Linked DNA regions of Homo sapiens: region 2 is linked to region 1. The links are contacts of gene promoters, found by promoter capture Hi-C in human tissues and cell types (Jung and others, 2019). All regions are on one chromosome and are shown on one strand. Each heading gives the region's core, a stretch centred on a gene start or on the middle of the fragment in contact. The rest is flanking DNA. Distances are from core to core; before and after follow the strand shown. Region 1 holds the start of ZFP36 (ZFP36 ring finger protein). Region 2 holds the start of SERTAD3 (SERTA domain containing 3).

Region 1 (2,700 bases), core at 75-2,574:
TGGTTTCCTCCTGCCTTAAATGGGCATACCACCTGGCATTAGGATTAATGTGCGTAAAGTACTTAGAACTCAGCCCAGGTGAGTTCTCCTTAACTCAGCCTAGAAGAGATCATCCGCCCGAGGGTGAGGGGGCTAGAGCCGCCCTGTGAATTGGGAAAGGAGGCCCCTTTTCAGCCTTGCCAGGTATCCTGGACCCCACCCAACCCACTCACTCACCCACCCAACCCCAGCAAGTGGGGAGAGGGAGAGCAGTCCAGGTCTCCTTATCTGTCTGGGCTGTTTAGGAGTGAGACCACACAAGGCAGGCAGTTCTCAGAGAATTCCCCTCCAAGGCCTGCTGGCTCTTTCTTGGCACTTTGCTCTGCAGATTTCTTTCCGTAAGTGCTTATTTCTCACAGTCTTTCTCCTTTTTGTCCAGTTTCTTTTTCTTTTTAATTTTTTTAAATAGTATTTTTTGTAGACATGGGATCTCACTGTTGCCCAGGCTGATCTTGAACTCCTGATCTCAGGTAATCCACCTGCCTCATCCTCTGAAAGTACTGGGATTGGCCGGGCTTGGTGGCTCACACCTGTAATTCCAGCTCTTTGGGAGGCGGAGGTGGGAGGATCGCTTGAGCCCCGGAGCTGGAGATTAGCCTGGGCAACATAGGGAAACCCCGTCTTTCAAAAAAAAAAAAAAAGAAGAAGAAAAAGGAAAGAAAAACACAAAAAGTGCTGGGATCACAGGTGTGAGCCACTGCGCTCAGCCCCTTTCTGTTTCTTTTTGTGATCCTCCCAACCCTCTTCTCCCTCTGAATCTGTCTCTGGGACTGTCTCTGTCTCCCCGTCTTCCCTCCCTTCCTCACCCTGTCTATCTCTCTCTGTATGTCTCTTGGTGTGTGTGTCTCTCTCGATGTTTTTCTCTCTGCCTGTCTGCCTGTCTGTACCCCTCTGCGTCTCTCCCCGCCCCCATCCGTCTGTGTCGCACGCGCACCCCCATCGGGCTTCTGCTCTTGTCAATTGCCCCTGGGGCCCTGCCCCCACCTCCGCCCCAGTTTCCTTCTACAAGCCTCAGTCTCCAGCTTTGAAAACTGGGCAGGCGTCCCCCCATCCGCACCCCCACCCCTTCCCCACGCATTCCCCGCTCGGTCACGGCTGTCCACCGGCCAAGCTCAGGCGCGTCCTGGCCCAGGGCCGGGCGGAAGGGAACCAGTCCAGGGCCAGCCAGGCTGCGCCGGGGGCGCGCGTCCGGGAAGCGCCCCTCCTGCCCCGCCCCCGGCCCCGGCCCCGGCCCCGCCCCGTGCTTGCAGTTTCCTATAAGTAGCCGGCTCTCGGTGCCAGCCTCAGCCTGACTTCAGCGCTCCCACTCTCGGCCGACACCCCTCATGGCCAACCGTTACACCATGGATCTGACTGCCATCTACGAGGTGAGTCCCCGCCGCACGGCATCCCCGGTACCTGCATGCCTGAGTCCGAGTCCCCACCTCTCTAGCGCCGCAAACTCCAGCCCGGGACGCTTGCCTCCCTTCTCCAACTGGGGCTCCCTAGCGCCGCGCCCTCCAGCCTGGGGCCCCTGCCTCCCGCTCAGACCAGCTTGGTGATTTGGAGGTGAAAATGGAACCCGCGACACCCGGCTCTTCGCTCAAACATGGGTGGGGCGGCCCATGCAAGTGGAAAGTCGGAGAACTTTTCTCAGACCGAGGCTGCCTGGAGGCGGAAGTGGCCCCCATACCTGGCTCACCCCTAGTCGTTGCTGAGGGCGTGGTTTTGCGCGGAGGCGTCTCTGGGGCTGAAGTCTCAGGGTGGGGGGATCCGACTTCTGTCTCTCCAGTCCCTGACCGTAGAGACAGAGAACCCTAAAACCGAAGCAATCCGGACTTCCAGGTCAACTTTGCCCGGTTTCTCCAGTTGTGAAACTGGAGATCCCGACGCGTGGGTCATATCCGGGGAGGACAAGAGACCCAAAATTGGGAAACAGTGGTGCGCCCTGACTTCGGGGTCCCCCTCTTGGTCCAGCCGGGGAAGCCGGGATTCCTGGGTCCCTCGGGATAAGGCCTCGGTGGTGGGTAAACTCAGAACCTCCAACTCTGGGTTCCTGGCATCCGGAACCCAGGGGTTTCTGCGGGCGGGTGGGGCTCAGGCGGGGAGCCCACAAACCGGCCTGGCAAGCTCTAGTTCCCTGCAGCTGGGGTGGGGCGTCGCCCTGCATTTTCAGGTGCCTTAACCGACCCATTTCCGCAGAGCCTCCTGTCGCTGAGCCCTGACGTGCCCGTGCCATCCGACCATGGAGGGACTGAGTCCAGCCCAGGCTGGGGCTCCTCGGGACCCTGGAGCCTGAGCCCCTCCGACTCCAGCCCGTCTGGGGTCACCTCCCGCCTGCCTGGCCGCTCCACCAGCCTAGTGGAGGGCCGCAGCTGTGGCTGGGTGCCCCCACCCCCTGGCTTCGCACCGCTGGCTCCCCGCCTGGGCCCTGAGCTGTCACCCTCACCCACTTCGCCCACTGCAACCTCCACCACCCCCTCGCGCTACAAGACTGAGCTATGTCGGACCTTCTCAGAGAGTGGGCGCTGCCGCTACGGGGCCAAGTGCCAGTTTGCCCATGGCCTGGGCGAGCTGCGCCAGGCCAATCGCCACCCCAAATACAAGACGGAACTCTGTCACAAGTTCTACCTCCAGGGCCGCTGCCCCTACGGCTCTCGCTGCCACTTCATCCACAACCCT
Region 2 (2,792 bases), core at 246-2,745, 1.0 Mb after region 1:
GGATTACCACCACACCCGGCCTCGATCAAGAGTTAATTGCCAGTTATTCGCTCAACAGATTTACTGAGTGCCTACTATATTCGAAATCTCCTGGAGCCCTGTTGGGGAACCTATGTTGAGATTCTTCTTCAACAGTCGGGATATTTCTATGTCCTCTTCCTTAACCGACTGGGAGCGCTCCCAAGAGTAGGAAAGGGGCCTGTCTCATTCCCTCTGCCCACGCTTTCAGATTCCCCCAAAGCGCGCCCCATAGGAAAACTTGCTAGAACTCAGCTCAGACCAAGCCCCGCCCCCTCGGAGGTCCCACTCAATCAGACCGCGACACTGTAAGGCCCCGCCCCCCCATGGGTCCTTACAGAGCATCCAGGAACGCCCCAATTTGGCCCAGGGGCTTCTGGGAAACGGGGGCCAACAGCCGCCAGGTACACGAATTGACGTCGAGCACGCACTACAATCCCCAGAGGGCTCCGCCCGTCCAGGGGACGAGCCACCCCCCTCACCCCGCTCTCCCTCAGGGCATGCGCACAGGGGCACAGGCGGGTGGGGGAAGGGAACCTGGACGTCCAGCTGCCGGCGCCTGCCGAGCCCCGCCCTCCATTGCCTCCGGGGCCGCGAGTCTGAGCTCCAGGCCCGGAACACCCCTCCCCCACCCCAGACTCCGGCTCTAAATTTGCTTTCTCCCGGTCCCTCTGTTCCTTGAAAGTCCGCGATTCTCCTTCCAAACTGCCCTTGGATCCAGAGACCCAGATCCGAACACATCGCTCAAAGACGACAATGCTCCGATCTAGTTCGGGAGACTACGTATCCTAATTCTGATACTTCCTCCCACTTCTCCTAGTCTCCTGACTTTCAAACGCCCCTGGACTTCACCTCCAAACTCGCTGTCCGGCTCCAAGACCCGAACATTGAACTCTTCCCGGCAACCTCCTTCCCCCGCCAGTGCGTCTTGGAGTCCCAAGAATCCTTGACCCTAGTTCTCTCGCTTCTCCAAATACTCAGAATCTCAGCTCCGTACCTCTCACACCTTTTCCAGAACACGATAAAGCCCCGAATTCAACCCGTCCGGAAGACCCAAGTGGAATCGAATCTCCAGGTTCCCTGTCTCAAAAGTTCCTCCCCTCTGTTCTCTCGCTTCTCCAAAAGCCCAACGTCCCAGCTTCAAACTCCCTCCACTTGAAAATACTGCCCCAACAACCTCGCCTCCCCTCCTGGGTCTTGAACTCAGTCTCAGGTCCCCAGACCCTCCCTATCATCACCCTGAATCTGAGGCCCCCTCCCCCGGTCCCACCCAGACCCCGCCTCCGCAAGTCCCCGGGGCGCGCTTCTCTCTCCCCCAGCCTAAGGTAAATTCCCAAGCCAGGCGACCACTCCTCACCGCAGCTGCCAGGTTCGCCACGACCACCTCCTGGAACGCCCACAGCGTTGCGACCCGCCAGTGCCAGGACCCACCAGTGACCGGTTGGAGCCTCGCTCACCTCGGCGGGGCCTCTCCGTCTGGCCTCTGGCCCACCAGCCCCGCCCCGGAGCCGAGCCGCGAGCCGCGATTGGCTGGAGTCCCGCCCGCCGCGGGGCGTCGATTGGCTGGGCGGAGCCATCCGCCCGTGCCCCGAGACGCCGGATCCGCCCACCCCTCCCTAGCGCCCCGGGCCATTTAAAGAAGTGCAACTGGCAGGGGGCGGGGCAGCGACTCCGGGGTGGAGGGCGGCCGGTCCAACAGAACCGCTTCCTTCCACTCAGCTACAGTCCTCGCTCCAAGATCGTCACCATTGCTCCCTGCGGTTCCTTTATGGTAGGCCTGGACTCCACCGTGGAGCCAGAGGGGCTGGCATGCCCCTCCCCAAGTCGCTGTGCAGGCGGGCGGGGCCGAGCAACCGGAGGAGGCCGCGCCCCCGGGGTTCCGAGGGAGGACGCTGGGGCGCGGGGGATGACGTAGCGGAAGACCAGCCAATAGAGTGGCGCGGCCCGCGTTGCCTAGGCGATCGTAGCCTCGCCCCCTTGCTGCCCCTCCCGCCCCCTATACGTTACCGCGCGGCCCCTTCTTAATCCTCAGGTTTTCTCAGCACGTCCTCTGGTGGTCCCACCTGGGTCTTCTGACACCCTCTTTCCTTCCCCGCTCCATCAAGATGACTCCTCTGCTACTGTTCATGGCTTCCTACCCACCCCGAATACAAACTTCAAACTCCTTCCTTTTGCCACAAAGCCCCTCACGACCTTGCTTGATGCGTTCTCCTGGTTCTCTCCGATCCTGCCCCATTGAGTCACTTCCAGTTTTTCTAAAATGGCTTCAAGCTCCCATTCACCCCATCAGGAAAACGAAAGGATTTTCTCTGTTTGTTTTCTTCCCTGCTTTACCCCAGTGTCTACAACAATGCCAGGTACATAATAAGTTCGCAAACATGACAATAAAAGGCCTCTGGATCTTTATTATTAATATTATTTTTTGCCGGGCGCAGTGGCGCACGCCTGTAATCCCAGCACTTTGGGAGGCGGAGGCGGGCAGATCACTTGAGGTCAGGAGTTTGAGACCAGCCTGGCCAACAATGGTGAAACCCCGTCTCTACTAAAAATACAAAAATTAGCTGGGCGTGGTGGCGCACGCTTGTAATCTCAGCCACTTGGGAGGCTGAGGCAGGAGAATCGCTTGAACCTGGGAGGTTGAGGTTGCAGTGAAGGCGAGATCGTGCCACTGCACTCCAGCCTGGGTGACAGAGAGATGGGGGAGGGGGGAGGGGGGTTTTCTTGTGTTGCCCAGGTTGGTTTTGAACTCCTGGCCTCAAGCAATCTTCTCGCCT

The links. The method cuts DNA at HindIII sites, captures the fragments that hold promoters and counts their contacts. A contact is called where the count stands out against the background at its distance.
Region 2: the fragment with the promoter of SERTAD3 here is called in contact with the fragment with the promoter of ZFP36 in region 1 in 1 of the 25 tissues and cell types used here (spleen).

What each region holds. Positions count from the first base shown.
Region 1 is chr19:39,405,523-39,408,222 of GRCh38, forward strand. ZFP36 (ZFP36 ring finger protein) reads left to right here and starts at 1,325. Exons shown (of 2, transcript NM_003407.5): 1 at 1,325-1,406; 2 at 2,221-2,700. The coding sequence starts at 1,383. RefSeq lists a silencer at 919-1,368 and enhancers at 1,489-1,688, 1,739-2,376, 2,377-2,700. The HindIII fragment of the contact is 20,061 bases long and covers 1-2,700 here.
Region 2 is chr19:40,442,840-40,445,631 of GRCh38, forward strand. It overlaps SERTAD3 (SERTA domain containing 3), which reads right to left and starts at 1,496. Exons shown (of 2, transcript NM_203344.3): 1 at 1,376-1,496. SERTAD3-AS1 (SERTAD3 antisense RNA 1) reads left to right here and starts at 1,678. Exons shown (of 2, transcript NR_187496.1): 1 at 1,678-1,789; 2 at 2,051-2,424. RefSeq lists silencers at 343-722, 1,188-1,247, 1,428-1,747, 1,808-2,027. The HindIII fragment of the contact is 14,341 bases long and covers 1-2,792 here.